Linked DNA regions of Homo sapiens: regions 1, 2, 3, 4 and 6 are each linked to region 5. Evidence: promoter capture Hi-C in 16 types of primary human blood cells and fetal thymus (Javierre and others, 2016). All regions are on one chromosome and are shown on one strand. Each heading gives the region's core, a stretch centred on a gene start or on the middle of the fragment in contact. The rest is flanking DNA. Distances are from core to core; before and after follow the strand shown. Region 1 overlaps LOC101929485 (a long non-coding RNA gene). Region 2 has its middle 14 kb from the start of ALCAM. Region 3 overlaps LOC101929485 (a long non-coding RNA gene). Region 4 overlaps LOC101929485 (a long non-coding RNA gene). Region 5 holds the start of CBLB (Cbl proto-oncogene B). Region 6 overlaps LOC101929485 (a long non-coding RNA gene).

Evidence for each region. The method cuts DNA at HindIII sites, captures the fragments that hold promoters and counts their contacts. A CHiCAGO score of 5 or more calls a contact.
Region 1: a contact is called between a fragment that was not itself captured here and the fragment with the promoter of CBLB in region 5, in 9 of 17 cell types (activated CD4 T cells, naive CD8 T cells, naive B cells and 6 more). The highest score is 9.6, in activated CD4 T cells.
Region 2: a contact is called between a fragment that was not itself captured here and the fragment with the promoter of CBLB in region 5, in 1 of 17 cell types (neutrophils). The highest score is 7.7, in neutrophils.
Region 3: a fragment that was not itself captured here is called in contact with the fragment with the promoter of CBLB in region 5 in 1 of 17 cell types (naive CD8 T cells); the score reaches 5.7 in naive CD8 T cells.
Region 4: a contact is called between a fragment that was not itself captured here and the fragment with the promoter of CBLB in region 5, in 1 of 17 cell types (total CD8 T cells). The highest score is 5.3, in total CD8 T cells.
Region 6: a fragment that was not itself captured here is called in contact with the fragment with the promoter of CBLB in region 5 in 1 of 17 cell types (naive CD8 T cells); the score reaches 5.2 in naive CD8 T cells.

What each region holds. Positions count from the first base shown.
Region 1 is chr3:106,612,761-106,616,408 of GRCh38, forward strand. The region is part of intron 2 of LOC101929485 (a long non-coding RNA gene); the gene reads right to left. Among named protein-coding and RNA genes, the nearest start is that of LINC00882, 630 kb to the right of the region's middle. The HindIII fragment of the contact is 2,946 bases long and covers 1-2,777 here.
Region 2 is chr3:105,351,102-105,354,978 of GRCh38, forward strand. No RefSeq gene overlaps it. Among named protein-coding and RNA genes, the nearest start is that of ALCAM, 14 kb to the right of the region's middle. RefSeq lists enhancers at 2,177-2,995, 2,584-2,673, 2,714-2,863. The HindIII fragment of the contact is 5,591 bases long and covers 1-3,877 here.
Region 3 is chr3:106,568,145-106,571,784 of GRCh38, forward strand. All of the region lies in intron 2 of LOC101929485 (a long non-coding RNA gene), which reads right to left. Among named protein-coding and RNA genes, the nearest start is that of LINC00882, 670 kb to the right of the region's middle. The HindIII fragment of the contact is 3,173 bases long and covers 1-2,931 here.
Region 4 is chr3:106,589,072-106,593,251 of GRCh38, forward strand. The region is part of intron 2 of LOC101929485 (a long non-coding RNA gene); the gene reads right to left. Among named protein-coding and RNA genes, the nearest start is that of LINC00882, 650 kb to the right of the region's middle. The HindIII fragment of the contact is 4,088 bases long and covers 1-3,338 here.
Region 5 is chr3:105,867,486-105,871,125 of GRCh38, forward strand. It overlaps CBLB (Cbl proto-oncogene B), which reads right to left and starts at 1,527. Exons shown (of 19, transcript NM_170662.5): 1 at 1,251-1,527; 2 at 1-106. The coding sequence starts at 92. RefSeq lists a silencer at 1,496-1,725. The HindIII fragment of the contact is 9,979 bases long and covers 842-3,640 here.
Region 6 is chr3:106,406,054-106,410,183 of GRCh38, forward strand. It overlaps LOC101929485 (a long non-coding RNA gene), which reads right to left. Exons shown (of 16, transcript XR_007095992.1): 12 at 246-326. Among named protein-coding and RNA genes, the nearest start is that of CBLB, 540 kb to the left of the region's middle. The HindIII fragment of the contact is 2,045 bases long and covers 410-2,454 here.

The DNA of each region.
Region 1 (3,648 bases), core at 55-2,554, 750 kb after region 5:
AATAAGGGACAATTCATGTAGGAACAAGTTAACTACAAAACATGCTCCTCAAAAGCTATCATTATTTTCACTGTCCCCTGCCCTCCAGACACAAATATAATTTCATTCCATAGATGCAACTCTCTGCTGACTGTGTATACCTCAATGACTATCATTTTCCAATCAGAATAGAGCATTTTCCTGTCCTTTCCTAGAAATGTATCTCCTTTGTTTGGTGTTGCAGACTCCAATAAGATGTGATTTTCAGATATGATCCCATTGGCCCTTAAAGATCTGTCTGATATACTAATTATTACCATGTTATTCAAATATTCTCTTGCCAGTGACTGTCACTGATATATCTTGCTTTATAACTGAAAAAATGGCTTTCATCTTCTAAGAAGATAATCTAATAAAACCCTAAAAAACAGCTAACCTGCAAGAATTGATATGTTGATGTCATGATATGTTCAAATTCTAAATCTAAGCATGAGATTGGGGTTTAAATAAAAATTTGTGAGTTTACCCAGGCCAAACAGGTATTGGTAAATTAATTTTGTATTTTGAAATTTTGGACAGCATGTTTATTGGTCAGAGTAACTTGTTCCTTGACAAATAACAATTGCCAGATATCAATGGCTTAACACACCAAAACTTGATTTCTTCGTCATACAATGTGGTCAACGTGGGTTTTTCAGAGATCTCTGCTCATCATAGTTGTTTGGGAATCAACTATCTATCTCAATACACATTCACATGATTACCAGAGCCACAGGAAAGAGACCATATCAAATTGCTTAACAAAAGGACACCTAGAAGCATATGTCACTTCCACTCATATTTATTAACCGAAGAAAGTCAAAGTGTCACACCTCACTTCAGGAGGATGAGACAGTGCAAAAACTGTCTGGAAGGAAAATGGGAAATATTTAGTAAATAACCCAAAAGGAAAAAACTATCTGCCTGGAAGGAAAATGGGAAATATTTAGTAAATAACCCAAAAAACTACCATTTTTCTCACTTTTCATATTTACTTGGTGACCAAGTATATTAGTCCACTCTCACATTGCTATAAAGAACTACCTGAGACTGGGTAATTTATAAAGAAAAGAGGTTAATTTGGCTCAGAGATCTGCAAACTGTACAGGAAGCATGGCTGGGGAGGCCTCAGGAAACTTACAACCATGGTGGAAGGCAGAAAGGGAAGCAAGTACATCTTCACATGGCCAGCAGGAGAGTGAAGACGGAAGTGCTACACACTTTTAAACTGCTAGATCTCACTCACTATCACAAAAAAAGCAAGGCGGAAATCTGCTCCCATGATCCAATCACCTCCCCACAGGTCCCTCTCCCAACATTGGGGATTACAATTCAACATAAGACTTGGGTGGAGACACATGGCCAAACCCTATCACCAAGAGTTGTTCATTGAAATCTCATTTCAGTTTCTAGTTTCCATTCATTAGTTGACTTAGTTTATGATCTCATTTCCTTTTTTTTTTTGTTTTGTTTTGTTTTTTTGAGACAGTCTCGTTCTGTCACCCAGGCTGGAATGCGGTGGTGTGATCTTGGCTCACTGCAACCTCCGCCTCCTGGATTCAAGTGATTCTCCTGCCTCAGCCTCCCAAGTAGCTGGGACTACAAGCATGCCCCACCACGCCTGGCTAATTTTTTGTATTTTTAGTAAAGACAGGGTTTCACCATGTTGGTCAGGCTGGTCTTGAACTCCTGACCTCAAATGATCTTCCCGCCTCAGCCTCCCAAAATGCTGGGATTACAGGCATGAGCCACTGGGCCTGGCCCTCATTCCTATTCAAATAGAATATAGAAAAGCCTTTTATCTTTACTCAACAACTCCATACCTTATACCCAGCCATATTGTATTACTTACAGTCCAGTACACTTTATTTCATATCTTCATGCTTCTCACATTTCTCCTTCTGTTATCTTCTCTAACTGAACATCCCACCCTCTCATAGCCATCTCAAATTTTACATCTTTTAAAAAGGCTTCTTAGGCTGGGTGCGGTGGTTCATGCCTGTAATCCCAGCACTTTGAAAGACCAAGACAGGTGGATCACGAGGTCAGGAGATAGAGACCATCCTGGCTAACATGGTGAAACCCTGTCTCTACTAAAAATACAAAAAAATTAGCCAGGCGTGGTGGTGGGTGCCTGTAGTCCCAACTACTCAGGAGGCTGAGGCAGGAGAATGGCATGAACCCGGGAGGTGGAGATTGCAGTGAGCCAAGATTGCGCCACTGCACTCCAGCCTGGGAGACAGAGCGAGACTCCATCTCAAAAAAAAAAGTCTTCTTAGAAAGCCCCACATACTTCTAGCCTGTCTATAATAACACCTTGGTGATGATACTTTATATATATTTAACAAGAACTGTATGTAGAAGAACTAATATGTAGTTGCCCCTAATTTCAAATCCCAAATATAGTCATATATAAGTATACATATATTTATAAATATTTATAAAGGTCTTCTTAAATATCAATCTATCTATCTATCAATAATCACCCTAATGGAAACTCCATTAGGGCGATTATTGATATCTAATCATTTAATTTTTATAAAAATATAAGCTCCATAAGTGGAAGAATTATTCTTATAGAATAGTCATGACCATATACTACCATTTCACATTTCTATGCTTGTATTCCTATATTTTTAGTGTTTATGTCCCTGATGGCTACAATACTACCTGAGTTCAATAAAAGCCAAGCAAATCTATTAATTTTTACCAAGAAATGTAACTGACAGGCATTCCTGATAGATCATACTGGAAAGAAAAGCTTTCTTAAAACAATCAATATACATAATCTGTTGTTAATATTGACTTGAAGAAAAATCGAGTTAATAGGTCTTCAAGAGCATTATGATCAATCTGTCATGGTTTTTCAGTACTCCCTTTGCCAAAGCTGATTGCATCTTCCTTGGATTGTGTATGACATAGCCTGAGAGTTGTGCTCTTTTCTAAAACTCTTCTAGAATGTGATTTTCTTATTACTTATCATTGAACAATTCCTATCACTCAGTTCCCTACTTTTATAACTTGATACAATTTCCAAGGTTACAGCTGTTATTTGTAACCTATGAGGCTCCTTGTTTTCTATTATTTCCCAGAAAAGTATTTCACTCTCACCTGAGATGATAGAGACAGGGCCCCTACCCCTAATGGCAACTGTAGGAATTTATTATCAGGGATCAGAACCAGAAACTTTATTATCACTGTTCATAAGTGGATGTATTCTCAACAATAAGGGCTAATGTTTTGATAGTCAGATAAGAATTCTCAAAAGTGTGCATATGTGTGCAGTGCTGGATGGAAGATGAGTATGTGTTCAATTGCTTTTAATCACTTATTTGCATTAGTACCACAGGGCCACTAACACGGCCCATGTTTTGTACAGCATTCTTTTTCTGGGAGTCCTGCACACTTGTAATGTGAGGAATTTCAACATACAGCTAAAGAAAAATGCAAGAACAACTCATTCATATATCAAACTCATTGAAGTTACCCCTATTATTCCAAATCCTAAATACAGTCATTCAGGTGATATAAATTAGGAATTTCTACTGTACAAGTACATAATGTCCTCAGTCTACCCTGTCATATTTTAATTTACAGTCTTATTATGATTAAGAGTAACTATTAATGACA
Region 2 (3,877 bases), core at 215-2,714, 520 kb before region 5:
ACGAAAGTAGACAGTGGAAGAAATGGGAAAAGGGACAGGTAAAACTTAATAAGGAAGGGAAAAGTCTGGAAAGATTGTATGTGCAAGGCACTGGTCCAGGGAAAATACATTCCTGGCTGATCGTAGACAAGGGATATTGCCTGAAGTTTATATACACGTGAGAGCAAGGTGATGAGGAGTAGAAGGCAGTAAAGACATGAGACTCATAAAAATTTTTCTTGCCTTAGCAGAGGCATCATTTGGCCATGTCATATGAGGTTCCAAACACTGCATTTTGTTAATAGTCAGAAAGAACTAAGGAAAACAAAGAAAGAATTTCATTTCCCCCATCAAGTATCAAGAGTCTTGCAATGAGCTTACTTTCATTATTTTTCTTGCAAGTAATTAATACCACTCTTTCCTTACAGAAAGCATTCGCAGAAAGATGGTAATTAGATCCAAATGGACAATTTGTAAGGAGTCATTCATGAACGGCTTGATTTAACAAATATTTATGGAGTGTTTACTATTTGTGAAGCATTTTTCTAGACACTGGAGACACAGCAGAAAATAGTATTCCCCTACTCCTAAAAATAATTACCCCTAAAAATAATTTCCTATATTTTTTGAGTGTATTTTCTGTGGCAGAAAGGCAACACACAAAAAAGATGAACATGTAAAATTTAAGGTATGCTAAATAGTCATAAGGGCTAATGAGAAAAATAAAGCAAAGAAAGTTGGTATATATGGAGAATTATTGAAATCGTATAGGATTTTAACCAAATATGCAAATTAAAAAGAAGAGAAGGAAAATGGTCATGAAAGGGGGATGTGTTGAGGCTCATGTGGATTTAGTTCATGCTTATGAATCACAAGTATTGTGAAAGGTCTTGTAGCAAAATGAAAAGGGCATTAGACACATCACTTCTCTTATTTTATCCTCATTTCCTCATCTTTAAAATGGGAATTCTAATATTAGACCTGTTGGCCACAAAAATGTGGATGTGTGTCTCTAATGAGTCATTGAATATGAATGCAGTCTTCAAAATGTAAAAGAGTATATACATGTAGCTTCATCTTATCACAAAAAATAATTTATATTTTCGATCCCCTCTTCTTCTCTGGGTCTCTGAATATATATGTGTGTGTGTGTGTGTGTGTGTGTGCATGTGTGTGTGTGTGTATACACACACATATATTTATATATATATACATATATAGTCACAGATGTGTGTGTATATATATATATATATACACACATATGTAAAAATACAAATACAGACAAAAAGAAAGAAGGAAGAAGAGAGGGAAGAAATTTTCTATTGAAAGAAAGAAAGATACACACATATGTTGGTCCAGTCCATCTTATAAGTCATACAATGTATCTAGTACAAACATTCTGACAAGGAATAAGCATATCTGTGGTGGAAACCCAATAGTAGGGTTCTTCGAGTCTCTAAACAGACTAGGGGCAACAGAATTCTTCTGTATTTGGGTCTCCCTGGATTACTGAAGACTTTGCAGGGCTCTTTTAATCACCTCCTGAAATGCTGGTTTCCTTCCTCCATCCAAGAGACTCGACAAAATGGAACTTGTCAACTGTGCTTACGGCAATAAATCTCCTTTCCAGCATTTCTCCTGACATTCTAATGCCTTCCTGAACATAATCAAAAGGTCATTTTCCACCTGTATTCATCTTCTCCAAGCTGCCTTATATTTCTGCAAATCCAAGTTTCAACAAGTTTGATTTCATTCCTTCTACAGTATTTTATTTGCTTTAACCAAGCTAAAAATCCCACTGTCACCCTATGTTGTACTCTAATAGCTTGAATGGGGATTATACTTTTTTGGCTGACTGTATAATGTGGATACATTTTGAAAGCTGAACTGCTCCTTTTTCTTGAATGACAGAGAATTAAATGCTACCTTTCAGATATTGCCAAAGGATTTCTTATGATTTTGTTTCCCACATCAATTCAATAACTTTCTATGTATCAATTGTGCAGAGATCAGCGTTCTCACCTACATACAAAACAATCCCCCAGAAGCCCTCAGACTTGAACAGGCCTTTCGCTGTGCAATCCACTCAGCTGTAGTCATGCATTTCACAACCCTGTCCACAGTTTCTAGAGGAGCAATTCTATTATCAGAATTTGCGAACTTATGCATTCTTGATTGCTGTGGATTTCTTTTTAACTAGAAACAGTTGTATTTAATTTTGGTAGGTTCATATTATTGATTTAAGTGCAATCATCGTTTCTAAACAACACTATCAAGAATACAGTGCCATTTATAATATACGTTTATTGGGGTGGAAGGTACCAGGAATATCCCCAGAAAAATATATGGGAAAACCTTGGACTTCATCTTGCCAGTGATAATGGCAAGAGACCGGCCTGTATTTGCTAATTTTGTTTAACATATTTGTGACACTCATCTACCTAAGTCAGTCTGTCCACTTCCCTGAAATGAGTCAGCGGCTTATGATTTATTAACAAGGCAGGGCTTTGGCCTTTCACTTGGAGGAACAGAATCCCAGGACGATCTGCGGGAACCACAACCTCACCAAGATCTCCTCTACACAAGGCAGGAGCCATAGTTTACCCGGGGGCCGGTGTCGCCTCAGCCTCCTCCGGGAAAGCTCCGAGACAGCGCATCCAGAGCTAGAGCGCCGCCCACCCAGCGGTCCTGGGTCAGCTCCGCGGGATGCAGGACAAGGGTCCTCGGCCATCGAAATCACTCTCCGCTCATAAAGACACGGTTCCTTGTAGAGGAAGGATTGGTGTACCATTTGGGACCCTCCCAATCCCCCAGAAGTATCAATGGCCCTTGCTCCGAACCGCCGGGTGCGGAGACGCACGACAGAGCAAGTGCCCACTGAGAAGAGCAGCGGAGAGAAGAGGAGAGAGAAAACCAGGAGGGAGAGACTGAGCCCGCTTCCCCGCCTGTCGGGTTTCGGGACCAAACGCATCTCGGGCTGCTGGGCCCCGGAAGGACGCAAACCTCGGGCAGCAAAGGAAAAAGACCTCCCCCTCGCGGGCCCTGGGGCTGAAGGAAGAACTCGGTTGGAGGAAGGGAGGAGGAAAAGGAAACGCTCATCTTTTCCCGTTTTGTTTTATGTTTTGGTTTGGTTTGATTTTTCCTCCACTGAGCGCAAAACAGAATCAGCCGCGACTCTGGCTGGCCTGGAGAGCATCCATTATTTAATGAAAAACAAGAGATCATTTTTTTTCTTCTTCTTCTTTGAAATAAGTTCAGCAGCACTTCCCTCTCCCTCTCCTCCGTTCTTCTCCCTTGCCCAATTTACCCTCTCCACCATTTTTACCGTTCCCATGAAATAATTTTCCTCAGGTTTTATGTCTCGTGTATCAGGTTTTCATCTGCTCAAATGCCTTCAGAACATACTATTCCGCTAATGTGGACTTCCACTCCCAATGTTCCAGTCCTTTCCAGTCCAGGGATTTCTTTAATAGGTGAGGTTTGTCCTTCCCTTCCTTGGCCCTGTAACAGGAACACACATTTTCATTCCATGCCACTTGCATTCCAAACCCTTGCTGAGTTGCTATTTTGCCTGCAGGCTCTCAGAGAACATCAAAGGAATTTGGCTTTGACTGTCTTTAGACCCTGGGTTGGTCCCTATGGTGGAGCTGCTCTCTAGATTTGGAATCCGCACATCTTCACTCTTTTCTTTAAAGCCTATTTCAGTCCCCAGCAGTAAAACCATGTAAAATGCTGAGGCAAAGCTGTGAAGGAGGTTAGTTTGACTTATATACTTATATTCTGCACCTCCAACCCAGCTGTTGCCATTTTCTCTCCCCCCTCTTCTTTTTTCCTCATCTAATTTCTCCTCTTTGTTAGAACTTGAGTTTCTGGCATCCAAAAAGTTAATTCAACTTCC
Region 3 (3,640 bases), core at 95-2,594, 700 kb after region 5:
GGATCACTTGAGCCCAGGAGTTCAAGGCCAGCCCAGGCAATATGGTAAAACAAAAAAACAAACAAATGAAAAGAGGTACATCAATACACATCCCATAGACATGAAAAGGATAATCGAGGTACAATATAAAGTACTCTATGCCCAAGAATTTTATAGCCTTGATGAAACTGACCAATACCTAGAAAGACACTATCTGCCAAGATTCACATAAGAAGAAATAAGCAATCTGAATGGGTACATATATTAAAGAAATTAAATCAATGATTAATAACCTTCCAAAATACATATCACCAGGCCCAGATGGGTTCACTGGTAAACTCTACCAAGCACCTTTTAAAATTTTATTTTACTTTTAATTGACAAATAATAGTTGTATATATTTATGGGGTACAATATGATGTTATGACACATCAATCATATCAGTTGTGAAAATTGAACACTGCGATATTGACAAAAGGTGTATATATACCAATAAAACAGACTAGGGAGCCCAGCAATAGACCCACATAAATATAGCCAGCTGATCTTTTACAAAAAAGTAAAGTCAATATAATGTAGAAAAAATCATCTTTTCAACAAATGATCCTGTAATAACTGGACATCTACATGCAAAAAGAAAACAAATCAATCTAAATACAGACTTTACAACATCCAAAAAAGTGTAAACCAAAATGAATCACAGACCTAAATGTAAAATACAAAACTATAAAACTTCTAAAAGATAACAGGATAAAATCTAGGTAACTCAGTTTTTGGTGATGACTTTTTAGATACACCGAAGGCATGATCCATGAAAGAAAAAATTGATAAGCTAGATTTCATAAGAATCAATAATTTTTGTTCTGAGAAAGAGAATAAAAAGAGAAGCCACAGACTGAGAGAAAAATATTTGCAATATACATATCGGTAAAGGATTTTTATCTAAAATATACAAATGATTTCTAAAATTCTAAAATTCAACAGTAAAAAATAACCCAATTAAAAGAATGGGTTTTCATATGACAGAAATTTAGATGTGGTTCGTGGAGAGAAGGAAAGAGACATCAATATCTTCCTTTTACATCAGAGAACTCTAGAGATATTATGTCAAGTTGATGGGAAAAGGCATTGAAAAAGTTATATATTGTTCAATTTTTAAACAGTAGAAGGAGTAATATTACACAATAATCAGCTTTGGGAGGAAAGGATGAGGGTAAATTAAGAGTGATGCGAGGAACCATAGCTCTATCTTTCAAAGTGAGAAGTAAACATATATGACTAAATTTGATAAATGAAGAAACATCTATACTATTTAGAGTTAAAAAGCTAATTCTAATAAAAAATGAAGAGCCAAAATTGTTCAATCAAAATAATTGCTTCTGAACAATAGCGCTAAGAAAGAGGAAGCAGGTCGGAGACTGATTTTAATAACTTTGAAAAAAATATAAAAAATAGAAAATAAATAAAGCAAAAATTTGTTCGTGATAGTTGATTGAAATAAAACATTGGCTATAAAGTAAGAGGGCAGTGGTTACTTTAAGTCAGGTGGTCTGAAAGTGACCTGACTTATGAGAGTGGGCAGCCATGAGAAACCTGGAGTCAATGTGATCCAGGCAGAGAGCGCTCCCAGTCTTGAGCTAAGTGGAAGCCAGCTTGTCATGTTGGGGGAAGAGAAAGGACACTTTAGCAAGCCAAAAGATGCACAGGGAGGTGAGCAAGGGTCAATCATATAGTCCTTATAGGTTATGGGATAAAGTTTGGATCATATTTAAATTAAAATGGAGAAACACCAAGGGGATTAAAGTAATGAAGAGATGTTCTGCTTTTAATTTAAAGAGACAATACTGGCTAGTCTGTAAAAGATAGACTGGTGGAGGTAAAAATAAAGGCAAGAAGATAGGGTGCTCCTACCACAGGTTGGAGAGAGGTAATAGTGATTCGATGAACAGTGTTTAATGTTTGTGACATATCTTTGGAGATAAATAAGGTTTATTCATGGATTATACACGAAGTGTGAACAAAAGTGGGGAAACACTGGAGACTCCACACAGCAGGGTGATGGTAGTGATTTCAACAGCTCTGTGACAGACAGTGGTGGAGATTTTTCCTTGAAGCAGAAATCCAGAGTTCTCTTTTGTGCATCTTCAGTTTGAGATGCCCATTAGAAACTCACATGCAGATCCTATATGTGGAATTTGACATATGAATTTGTAGTTCTAAAAAAGGGTTCAACTGCTGAAACATATCTGATAATCATCAGAATGCAGGTAATACTTAAAGCCAGAAGAGCCTCATCTTAAAAAAAGAGGGTCTATAATAAAAATAGCAAATTTTATTTTGTGGTTATGATATGCCTAACACTCACCTAAAGGCTTTTTCCATGTTATGTTTGGAGGTCCCAAGACCACCTCTGGGTTTGATGATTTGCTAGGGCTGAAATAACTCAGTACGTAATCACTTTCATGGCTATGATTCATTACAGGAAAAGTATGGAAAGCAAAATCAACAAAGGGAAATGGCACATGGGGCATTTTCTGAGGGAAACCAGACACAGCATCCTTTCCCAGTGGAGTGATGTAGAATATGCTTAAACCCCCAGCAATTAGATGGGATAACACAGGAAGTGTTGCCAACCAGGTAAGCTAGTTAGAGACTCAGATCCCTGGGTTTTTATTGGAGGCTAATCACACAGGCAGCCTCTGTCTGGTACGCACAAATATTCCAGAATTTCAGAAGTAAAAGAGGTGGTCAACACAAACCATATTGTTTTCATAAATAGTTATGGTGAGCTACTCTAATCAGTTAGTTGTGTGGAAATACTCCCCAAATCCAAGTTCCCAGATGCCAACTCAGGGCCAAACTTGTGAGCAGGTCTATTTAAGGATAAGCAGTTAGGCCTTCTCTTTTGAGTCTCTTTGGGACACATATCTTAGACTACTTAAGACTCCAACAAGCTTTTCTGATAGGTCTTATCACTATCTTTATTTTACCAACAAGTAAACCATGGGAGATGCACACTCATTTTATAAGGCAAAAGGTTGGAAACTAAACTAAGGTTTGGCTCTTGTGTGATTGCTCTTAGGTACTTCATAAAGGAGCTTCTCTCAATAGAGAACAGAAAATGGCAGGGGAGGAGGGTTGATGGACTAAGCTTCGGGAATCTCAACATTTACATGTCTAAGAGACTAAGGAGGACAAACCAGTGAAATATATAGAAAACCAGGAGACCATGCAGGTCTATCTCAGGACTGACAGTGGTGTTCAGAAAATGGGCTATTTGCAATTGACATATTGGAGAGGGTGCAGCTATTGTGGATAACAAGGTTAAGTACATGTCCTCATTTTAATTTTCCTGCTTCGCCTCCTACCCTGATCTAGTACACTCTACCTCTGATCACACGGGCCACATGTTTTCCTCTTCTTACTACAGCTGATATTTGTTTACAAACACTTCTCCTGTTATCCAAAATGTTATCCCCTTACTTTCCAAATAGTAATTTCTAGCCATCTATCAAAAGCTGTCTCTAATAGAAACTTATTTAGAAAATCTTGCTGCTTCTTCCAGAGTTATCTACTTTCTCATGGAAAATGTTCTCTTTGTGTTTCTGTTACAAATTCTTTTCTTAGTTTCCTATTATGTGCTTACTTCTCACCATTTACT
Region 4 (4,180 bases), core at 45-2,544, 720 kb after region 5:
GGTTCATTTTGAGTGTATATTCCTATACCCATTACCAGAGATTCTGATTTGACAAATCTAGAGATTAGGACTTTGACAAAGCTACAGTTCAGTACTCTTCATTAAAAATAAAAATCCTCAGGTTATCATGACATGAGAATTCTGGGGATCATATTTTGAGAAATGCCATTCAAACATATGTTGGAAAGAGAGAGGGTGGTGGTGCTGGATATTTCTGTGTGGCTAGGGTGTCCTGTAACCTCTAGGTAATACGTTGCCTCTTTGTCCCCAGCTACTAGGTGCGCCTCCACTTTAGTTCTGAAAGTGATTGTCTTTTGGCTCTGAAATATCAAGAACTACTACTTCTTGATCATCCCAGAGATAGGCTGCTGCTTGCTCTGCAAATGCGAATGAATGTGAGCCAAACCACATTTGCCGTATTGCCTCACCCCTTTGTTCTCAACATAATTCCCCTTAAGACTGTGCAGGTTTCAGCAAAGTTAGTGGTAACTAAAGGCAAGTAAAACATAGAAAGGGAGAAACACATTTCATTTGACTGTCTGCCAAACCTAAGCACACAGAACTGATAAATCTTTTAGAAAAGTTATATTTCAGACTCATCCAGATTCTTTGTTTCCCTTTCATTCATGACTGCCTTTTCCAAGTGTATAGGTGCACCTCTTCCCAGGGAAACTATAGCATCTGGTACCTCCCTCCAATATAATGCACTGGGATACCACAATCTTCAAAAGTCCAAAATTTCCAAAGACTGAATTATGACATTAGTGATGACTATGTCTGTGGCATTTGTGTAGTAACTGAATTAAATCGCTTTCTCAATAAATTGCAATCTCTTTGACAGCAAAGATCCCACTCTCTCCCCTTTTAAACCCTTGTACCATAGGCTTTCACATGCAATAGTCCTCATAGATGACAGTACAATTCAGTGTCCTGGAGAGTTGACAAACAGAAAAGCCAGGATGGGTTTATCATTATTTATTTAATTTTTCTCTGAAGAACGAATGTTGTATTATTAGCCCTAGAAAGTTAATGAAGCAGGGTCCTTGGGCATTTCCATCAAGATCACTTCAACACAGCAAATAATGATCCCAAACTACCTCACATAAAATACCAACTATTTTCTAAGGTTTTGGCTAAATTGTAGAAATAATTGAGTGGGTTAAATGCCACTTTTAAGTGTTATGTACTCACTTGGAATTTACAAGGAGTCTCAGATAACTAAAAGTGCAGGAAGAACAAGTAAATCCCCTTAAAGAACATTGAATCCTATTACTACCAGAGAAACTACTGATCTCAGCACATTTTCATTCAAACTGGCAGTGTTTGCAGGCCTTGTCACACTAACACTGAAGAGCTATCGTGCAGATATTTTACTTTGACTTCACTATGTAGTCATTGAGAGTCTACTTGGTGAGTAGAATACTGAAAGGAAAGGAAATAATTGCTAATAAGGTGCATATTTCAAGAAGCAATTGCATCATAGACTATTGGAATAAGAGGTTTTGCAATCTAACAAGACTATATTGGATGTAAGGCTTCATCTCACACTGGTAGTGTGAGTCTGGGAAAATACATATTAATAATAGAATTTATTTGAGTATTTTTGGGGTAGGCCTTATGCCAAATTACTTATGTAAGTGATTTGACTTGCTAAAATCAGCTTTCTTATCTGTTAGATAATTTCCGGGAGTTTTTAAATGAGACTATAAACTAGGAAGTGCTAATTATAGCATCTGAAACATAATAGGTACACAATAAATTCTCAGTCCTCTTCTACATTACATAATTTTGTGTCTAATCTATTTCAGTAGGCTTTATGTTTTTAAGGTATATAGACTGCCAGAATTTATTTGTGAGATCATTTTCCTACAATGAAACACAAATACTTTGCTTTAGTAAAGTTAATCAAGACGTATGGCTGTATGAGTATGGTGTCAACATCATTTCATTTGGAGGATTCAAATAGGGCCAGTCTCAGAAGTAGATTAAATAGATAGATAGTAACCTGCATGGCATGCTTTTCTTTCTTTCTTTGTTTTGAGACAGAGTCTTGCTCTGTCACCTGGGCTGGAGTGCACTGGTGAGATCTCAGCTCACTGCAACCTCTGCCTCCTGGGTTCGAGAAATTCTCTGCCTCAGCCTCCTGTGTTTTACCCCAAGTCTAATGATACTGCAGAGGTTGCATTATCAACAGTTACCCCTCAGTTGTGGATTAATATGTGGACTCACACTGGCTTTTTGAGCCAATTACCATAGAAAAATACTTGTTATGAAATGCACAGGGCCAGAGTTTCCATTATGGAATCACTAATCTGCAGATTGTTTGCCCGTCTGTTTGAAAATCTTAAGGAATAAAAAATGATTCCAGAAATTTGAACCAAAGCAATTGGGAGAATGGTACTCCCATTTACTGAGAGGTTAAAGATCACCAAAGAAGCATCTTTGGTAGATGGTGAGGTAGAAGGTGGGACTCAACTCTGGAGGTGGGGCTTGGGCACCAAACCAAATTGAGGACTAGCTAAAATAGGGCCAGGGCAGAAGGAGCTTTCTATAAGACACACCCACCAGTGTGCCATGTCAGTTTACCATTGCCATGACAACACCCACAAGTTACTGCCTCTTTCCATGGCAACAACCTAATTACATAGAAGTTATTACCTTTTTCTTAAAAATTTCTGCACAAACCATCCCTTAATTTGCATATAATTAAAAATGGGTATAAATATGATGGCAGAATTGCCTCTGAGCTGCTATTTTGGGCACACTGCCTATGGGATAGCCCAACTCCACAAGGAGGCATTCCTCTGCTGCTGCTGTACACGCCACTTCAATAAAAGTTGCTGTTTAACACCACCAGCTCACCCTTGAATTCTTTCCTGGGCAAAGTCAAGAACCCTCCTGAGCTAAGCTCCAATTTTGGGGCTTGCCTGTCCTGCATCAATGCTATGTGTACGGTGGCACAAGGAAGGTTGGAAGCTCACTTTTAGACATGGTAAGTTTGAAATGACTATTAGACATCTAGTTGGAGATAGCGGTTCACCAATTGAACATTCAAATCTACTGTTCAGGGAAAAGGTCTAGCTAGAGATAGAAATCTGGGCGTCATTCACCTATAAACAGTATTTAAAGCCAAGACACTAGATGAGAATGAGATAATAATAAAACATTAAGTGTGGATAGATAAGATAAGCTGTCCAAGGATGGAGTTCTGAGGCACACCAACAATAAGAGATGCAGGTGATGGTCTGGGGTAAGAAACATCCACAAATGAAACCAAGGAGTAGAAAAGGTGGCAAAGTAAAACTAAGGAGAATGTGGTGTCTTGGTTAAAGACCTAAAGCTTTTAAAATATTTCAATTTCATAAATCAAAGTGGATTCAAAATTAGTTCTGTAATAATGTCACTTCCACTATTCGCATCCTGATATTTTGTTGTTGTTGTTGTTGTTTGTTTTTGTTTTTGTTTTTTTTGAGACAGAATCTCACTCTGTCTCCCAGGCTGGAGTGCAGTGGTGCGATCTCACTCACTGCAACTTCTGCCTCCTGGGTTCAAGCAGTTCTCTGCCTCAGTCCCCCGAGTAGCTGGGATTACAGGTGCCTGCTGCCATGCCCGTCTAACTTTGTATTTTTAATAGAGATGGGGTTTCACCATCTTGCCAGGCTGGTCTTGAACTCCTGACCTCTTGATTCACCCACCTTGGCCTCCCAAAGTGCTGGGATTCCAGGCATGAACCACCGTGCCTGGCCCTGATATGCTTTTTTTGAGTGAGAAAGAAAAGGACAGAACCACAATTAGCAGGCTAGAAATTATACACAAGCAGCCTGCCTAGTCCATACCACCATGTGTACATGTAATTATTACTGGTAAATGGTTAATAAACTTAACAACTAAAATAACACAAAAAAGCAAACAAAACTATAATGTCAGTTTCTGGGTACCTTACTCCTTATTCCATCCCATATGTTAGTCGTTTTCAAATATGGGAGAAAAAGGCTTTGTCAAAATCTTGATGTATCCATGCAATAAATCACTGGTTAACTAAATCATTAAATAATATTCATGAACAATCTGTTCTGTATGCTGAATTAAGGAAAAACATCGAGAATCTCAGTAGAGATTCTTTGGAGGTACCTCACTATCCACGTCTGCTTTAGTTCATCAGTCAGAGCTACATGTATAA
Region 5 (3,640 bases), core at 277-2,776:
TCCTGAATAGCATCAATAATACCCAAAATTCGACCTTTTCGGGGATTTCCTCCTCGACCACCAGGGTTTCTGCCATTCATTGAGTTTGCCATCTGGAATTTTAGTTCTTTAAAAGGCAGATTTAAAAAAAGAAAAGTTAGTTGGTTTTGAAAATATTTACCCACCAGAAAACTAGAGACTAACTTGTACCACTGCATCTTCCTCCATCGATTAGAGCAAAACCAAAAGTTCCGGATTCATCTTTATCAATAAGCTTGTGAATTTACACTCTCAATCTTTACACACAGTAGTTTTAAGAGCAGTGATCCTAGATTTGCTTTTACAATACTAAGAGTTAAAGATGCATCCTGCTCACGTTTCAAGTAGCTAAGGCTGAACTAATACTCAACTCATAAAAAAAAAAAAAAGAACAAACAAAACTTAAACAGGTTTCCCCCACCTAGATAAAAACAGAATGTTCTTCCCCTCCTGCCTTAATTCCAATTCAAAATACCAGAACAACTGAAGGTCCTATCATACATTTTGGGAGCCTTACGCAGAAACTTCACTTTCACTCTGTTAGATTTCTCCAAGTTACATAAACATAAAGATTATCCTACACAAACGTAAGGGACAGCTCTGTTGTCAACAAAAGCGCAGGGCATGTCCCACACTAAAACCACCAAGTACGGACACACGAACACCTTTCTTTAAATCAACGCGGTGAGTCGTTATTCCCAAGAACCAAATGAAATTAACACACAAATAGCCCATTTGAAAAGAGAAAAGAGAAAAATGACAAGAGCGGCCACGGAAAGGAGGAGTTCACTTCTCTGGCTCCTCGCCTCTGCCCTCAACCCAAAGCTTTGTTTCAGGACGCCTGTGTCCCTTCCCTGCTCAGGCCCCTTCCCGGCCCCTCGGGTCTGAGCTGCAGGAGGAAGGTGGACTGGGAGGGGACAAAGTGTCCCTCCCGTGCCCGCAGCACCGTCCGTCTAGGGCGCGGGAGGGACACTGTGGGCTCGGCGCCTGGGTGGACGCGCCTCCCGGCCGCCTGCTGCAGTCCTCACCGCCGTCTGCCTGGACGCCCTCTCCCTCCTCCCCGGCCTGCGGGTTCTGGTCTTTAAATGCCCCACTTCAAACTGGACGGCGGCGGCAAAGGCAGCTGAGAGCCAGGGCTGTCCCCTCTTCCTCCTTGGCCCGCGCCTGGCTACCCCGGGCCCCCGGGCCGGCAAGAAGTGTGGAGCCTCCCCGGCGACCCCTTCCCTTCTTGCCTTTCGGCGCCGTAGCTGTCCAGAGACACGCGTGTGCGCGGGTCCCACTCCACACGCACGCAGCCCAGTGTGTGTGGGGAGCCCCGGCTGGGAGTGGGATCGCTGAGAACAGCTCGCTCCCGAAGAAGGAGCAACCCAGCGCGCAGGCCTCCGAGACGTGGAAACGCAACAATTACCGTCAAGACAAATCCACACCCGCTCTCCCCTCCCGCCCGACTCGGGGAGGCCGCGGGACGCCGCAGCAGCACTAGCAGGAGGAGGAGACCGCTCGCTGGACACCCCACCCCTGTGGCACACACAGGACCCAGGCTCGGGGCGGGGCGGGGCGGGGGCGGGGCCGGGCGCCGCTGAGCCAATGCCGCGCAACCGCGCACTGCCCGACAGCGGGTGCAGCCAATGGACGGGAGGCGCCCGTCCTCCTCGCGCTGCCGCCCCGTCCACGTCCTCCACAGTACACAATGGCCCCAGAGGAAGGCCCGCTCGCAGCACGTCAGAAAGGAATTGGACTCGGAGAGAAATGAGGGGCCTGGACTCTCCCGGGAACGAAAGTGGAAACGGGAAAGGAAATGGACGAAGGGATGCAAGGCACGAAGGAGCTAACCAATAAGGGGTGGCAGGTGGGCGTGAGCGTCGGGACCGGGAGCCAAAGCCATCTGGGGCTGAAAGGCGGGACTTCCTGCTTCGCTTACCTTCCTAGTCTTTTGTTTCATAGCAACAGAGTAGTGGCTGGAAGGGTGTTGCTTCTCCGCTCTGGGCGGGTCCAACGCTGGAGAAATTCATCTCCCTAGGGCTGCCAAACCCTTCTACCCAGGACAGCAGCCAAACAGGTCTATGACGTTGCTTCTTGTTGGCTATCAAAAAGAGCAACAGCCACTGAGCTTCTAAAATGCAGAATAAATCTCACAGAGAGTAGGCTGGGGTGACATCTGAATGCCAACTGAAACTTCCCAAGTTTCCGAGTTTCTCTTTTGCTGTTAGTTTTAGAGGGATTGCAGACCAAACATCAGGCTGATGAAAAAGCAAATAGTTGACAACGCTGGCCAAACAGTCTCTGCTAATCATGCCAAAGCAATAAAAGTACCAGATAATGGGAATTGCTGATAAATACCTTGCACCTTTTTACTTAGTGCAAGTTTCTGCCTAAATGACTGAGGAGGAGACAGCTACTGTGTTTTGTCGGAGTCACCTTTACATAGATTTCTATCCATTTAAAAACAACCTTACTGTAGCTGCCATTCTCTACCAGCATTGTTACCTCTTTCTGTGGCTCCCTTCTTTGTGCTCTTAAAAAGGCCGACATCTGGCTAGTCTTTAAAGGAGAAAGCTACTGTGCTGGGACTTGTCTTTCAGCAATATCATAGGTTAAACAAATGCCTTCCATTTATTTCAGTTTACTTCAATCCCACCACTCATGCTACCAACAATTGCTCTGGACTTCATACTTTGGAACTTTCTTTCCACTACAGTTGATAGCGTTTATTACACTTTTCAGCTTGGACATCTCAGATGTTCTGATATTTTACATTGGGTTTTTTGTTTTTGATTTTGTTTTTTCAAATCTTGCTCTAACCACGTAACCTGATAAAATGTTTCTCAATGGTTCTAACCACTTTCTAGCAACTAAGAATTTTAATACTGTAATTATTACTATGAAGGATCCTGAGTTTTCCTTTACAGCCTTGAATTTACATGGTTAAGATTTTAATTTGACGAAAACAGAAAAAAAATGTGCCTTTGCAACCAGTCAGGTGATAAAGTGTGATTCAGGAAGTAATTTTGTTTCCTTGTCATTATTTCTGTGCCAGTAATTAAAGAGTAGTTCCTTGTTTTCACATTGCATTTATCTACAAAAGTGCTGGCCTCTCCATATCTCCTCCACCCATCCATATCTCTTTTACTCATAGTCGTAGTAGCTACATTTACTAAGGGGAGACTGTAAAAGAAAAAAACTGTGTTACCTTTAAAATAAATTTTAAAAGAATTAATGTGTAGAAGCATGTAGCAAAACAGTGGCTTAAGGGAACATTATAACTAAGTATATTACTTATATTCATATCTGGATAAATGTAAAATACCCAAAATACATGTTATAGCATGTGCCATTCCTTTTATATGGTGTTTTGCAACTGAAAGAGATGAGTTAATGAGAAAATGGCATTGCCTATGGTATCAAGCATATCATGTTGATATAAATTACAAGTTTTGAGGTGTATGGTTTGACGTATTTTGAAATATATGTATGTGAGATACGGTAGCATCCCTTACCACTTATTTGCCATCTCACTTTCCTTGGTTCTAGTTACCTGTGGACAACCAGGGTTTGAAAATAGGTGAGTATAGTACAAAAAGATATTTTGAGAGAGAGAAAAATACCACATTTATATAACTTG
Region 6 (4,130 bases), core at 182-2,681, 540 kb after region 5:
CTCAGCCTCCTGAGTAGCTGGGATTACAGGTGCCCACCACCATGCCCAGCTAATTTTGTACTTATTTTTAGTAGAGATGGGGTTTCACCATGTTGGCCAGGCTGGTTTCAAACTTCGTGACCTCTGGTGATCCGCCTGCCTCGGCCTCCCAAAGTGTTGGGATTACAGGCGTGAGCCACTGCACCCGGCCCAAAAACAATTCTTAAATACTATTAACACAAATCAATATGCACCTATCTTCCCACCTGACTCTTGGGGTTTTCTTCCTACTTTTTTCATCCTTTCCTTGGAATTTTGATATCAGTTATCCCTCCTGCACTCTGGGTCTTAAAGGAGAAAAACAGATCAGTATTTAAAGGGAACACATTATGAGGGATAAATTTTCCCCAATAAAGGATCTTTGTATGAAAGCTTATGGCTAAAGAAGTTATATTTTTTATCTTGACTTCATCAGTTATTGCACTAGCCTGCCCCACTGCCATACTTCCAATTTATTTTTACTCTATATTAATCTTCCTATGTCACCAACTTTTTATGTCATTCTGTTTTGTTTTGTTTCTTAAAGGTGCCTCTTTCCCTGCTTCTTGAAGGATAAGAATGCTGGCCTATCATTCAAAACCATTGGCTAACTATGTATAACTTTACTTTTATTATTCTTGCTGTATGTACTTTCCACTTCAACCAGAGTATTGTCATTACCTCATTAATGTTCCCTTGTTCCCTCCAGTCCCTATGCCTGGTAAGATCTCATCTTTGTATTTTGAAATTTTACCCATTTTCCAAAAGCCAGATCATGGCTTTTATGCTCCTCAGCTCGTAACCAAAAATTAGGTCTTTCATTTCTCTGCTCTCAATGTACCCATACTTCTCTTATTGCATTTATCATATGCTGATTTGAATTTTTGTTTTCTCTTTATACACTTTTCTTAGTGTTCCTGGTGGACTGTAAAATATTAATATAAGGGGTCGGCATCACATACTACTTTGCATTTTCTAATAGTAATGGACTCCTTATAGTATGTGCTCAGTTAAGATTTATTTTTAATACTATACCTAATAAAGGATATCATTCTTACCTCAGCTTATAAGGTGCTTTGATGAAAATTCCAAACCCACCATCAGCATGATGGTAACAGCTATCAATTAAGATATGCCAGAGACAATACTGGCATTCTGTATAGTCTTTAATTTCACTCTTCAAACTACCCGGCATTGTAGGTATCATGACTCTTATTTTATAGGTGAACTAAGGTTCAAGGCATCTTGTTCAGGATCCAGATAGTAAATGTTGGAGTTAACTATAAAATTCAACTGTGCCTTACTGGTCTCCAAAATCAAATTCTTATTTTAAATATTCCTATACAACCATTTTTAATAAAACTCATTGAAATGTCTCTTAGGCTGCTTCATTCTTTTATGTTCCCACTATACAGAGAAAAACTGGGGGCACCCTCATCAATAGATATGTTGATTTTCAGACTGTGTTCTTAAGTGATTTGCTTCCACTTGAAATCCCCCTCACTAGGCACTATTTCCTATTCATGGTTGCCTGACTCATTTACCTTAAAATGTTCTCCTGTCATCACATTTTTCCCAGTCAGCTAGTTATAAAATGTTTGAATAATGTTTTTGATCATCAATTTTGTATCTCTAAAATGGGAATAATGACATAGTCTATCTCATAAAGTTGCAAGTATCAAATGGATGCTTACAAAGCAGGGCTCTGCTCACAGAGTAAGCATTTAATACATTTTAGTTATTTTTTATTTAAAGCACATTTTAAAAGAGAATAGCCATGTATAACCTCATTTTACAGAGAAAGGAAATGAGATGCAGACAAGAGATTTGTCTCAAATCAACCAGAGGTTAGAATCAGGTCTAAGAATATACTCTGACCCCATTACTCCCAATACTGATACTTTTTATAATATGCAAAATTATTTGACTTACCTTCTACCCACTTTTCCCCCTTATCTGTCATCATGTATCTTTTGTTTGCCCAAGGTCTGTTTTCTCACCATCCACTCTAAGCAATGTGCTCATTGGTACAATTTAATTTTTGCTGTTTCAGTTTTGAAAAGTCCTCTTAAACTCTTCCTAGTTATTAACGTTGTCCAACCCACAGGTCCTTTTCAAATAACACTCACTCATATGTTTTCCACAAAAGCCTCAGGTCACACCTACTTGTTCCTCCCTGACTTTCTCTCATGTTTACTTTGTCTATAATATTATGCATTTATTATACCTTGCTTGTCCTATAAATGTCTCATAGTGTGTGGTACTGATTTTAGTTTTACAGAAGGAAGTATTAACATACATAACTGGTTAAAGCTGAAGGAGCTATAACTGCACTGCTTTGCTGAGACTTTTTCACTGTTATCATGGCAAGACTTGGTTTGCTATCCCATGTGTTATGTTGGAGTACACTGTGGAACAGGCAAATTTGTGCTTCTAAGCTTTTATACAAATGTATGAAAAATATTTTTTCAATAATGCTTTTTGCAACTGTTCAAAAGTCAGACTTTAAGTTCAGAGTTGTCATCAACTCTACCGCTAAAACTCAATTTATTATCTTTACTAATTTGCTATTTCTCTAGAGATTTGTGTAATGCTGAAACATGAAAATATTTGTTCTACAAAATATACTTTCCAAAGTGCCTAAGATAGTGGACAGAGATTTTCTAGAATTTTTCCTTTCCTGTTTCATTGTACTGCCCCAATTTCTCTTTCTTATTTTATCTTTTCCCGACACAGTAGAAGAGTTTTATAGACTACTCTGGAGTTTAGGGCAACTTACACCTAAAGTAGTGAAACAAAAATCCCCCATTTCCATGCACAATTCATCTCTCTGATAGCTTTAATCAATCTCTTTGATCATACTCAGGTGAGGTTTGCTGCTTAACTGTTTTATGCTATCCATGGGTCAACTCAAGACGACATTGTCCACAGAAGTCTAAGGAATGTGTAACAGGAAGTCAACATTGTTATTCCTATGGTGATATGGCTTGGCTCTGTGTCCCCACCTAAATCTCATCTTGAATTGTAATAATCCCCATGTGTCAAGGGTGGGACCAGGAGAAGATAATTGAATCATGGGGGCATTTTCCCCCATGCTGTTCTTGTGATAGTGAGTTCATTCTCAGGAGATCTGACGGTTTTATAAGGGCCTTCCCCCTTCGCTCTGCATTAATTCTCTCTCCTGCCACCCCGCGAAGAGGTCTTTTCTGCCATGAATGTAAGTTTCCTGAGGCCTCCCCAGCCATGCAGAACTGTGAGTCAATGAAATGTCTTTTCTTTATAAATTACACAGTCTTGGGTATTTTTTCATTGGCGCATGAGAATGGACTAGTACATATGGTGAAATATATTCCATCTTCCATTTATAGATTCATTGTTTTAATTTATTAACTCTTGTGAGAAAATGTTCATTTATTTTTATTTTCTGCCAATATTAGCTCTGGGAATAAGCAAGCAATTCTTCAAGTTTTGGATAATAGTTTAAATATTAGCATTGTCTTTGGGTGGTAGTATCATGATTAGTTTTTTTTAACATATCATATAGTATTTAAAAAATTAATATGAAGTACTTTTATCATCAGAACAAAACTACTTTAATTTCTACTAAAAAAAGACTTTTCAGAGTTATCTATTTAAAGTAGTATTTCAACTTATACTTTTAAAATGTATCACAACTGTTTCTCTTTGTTCCGATATTTTTAAAGGTATTTTCTGTTGCAATGTTCAATATATTGATCTTTGATAAAGTTACTCATCTTTGTCACTTTTAGTCATAGCAGGATAATAATAATTGGAACATTTAAATAGAGATACTTTCATATACACACTTTTTAATTTTTTAATTTTTAATTTTTGTAAGTACATAGTAGGCATATATATTTATGGGTTATGTAATATAGGCATGTAATGTGTAATAATCACATCAGGGTAAATAAGGTATCAAGTATTTATCACGTCAAGCATTGATCCTTTGTGTTAAAAACAATCCAATTATTCTTTCAGTTATGTTCAAATGCACAATTAAATTATTTTTGACTATAGTCACCCTGTCATACTGGTAAATGCTAAGTCTTATTTAGTCTTTCTAACTATAATTTTGTATTCATTAACCG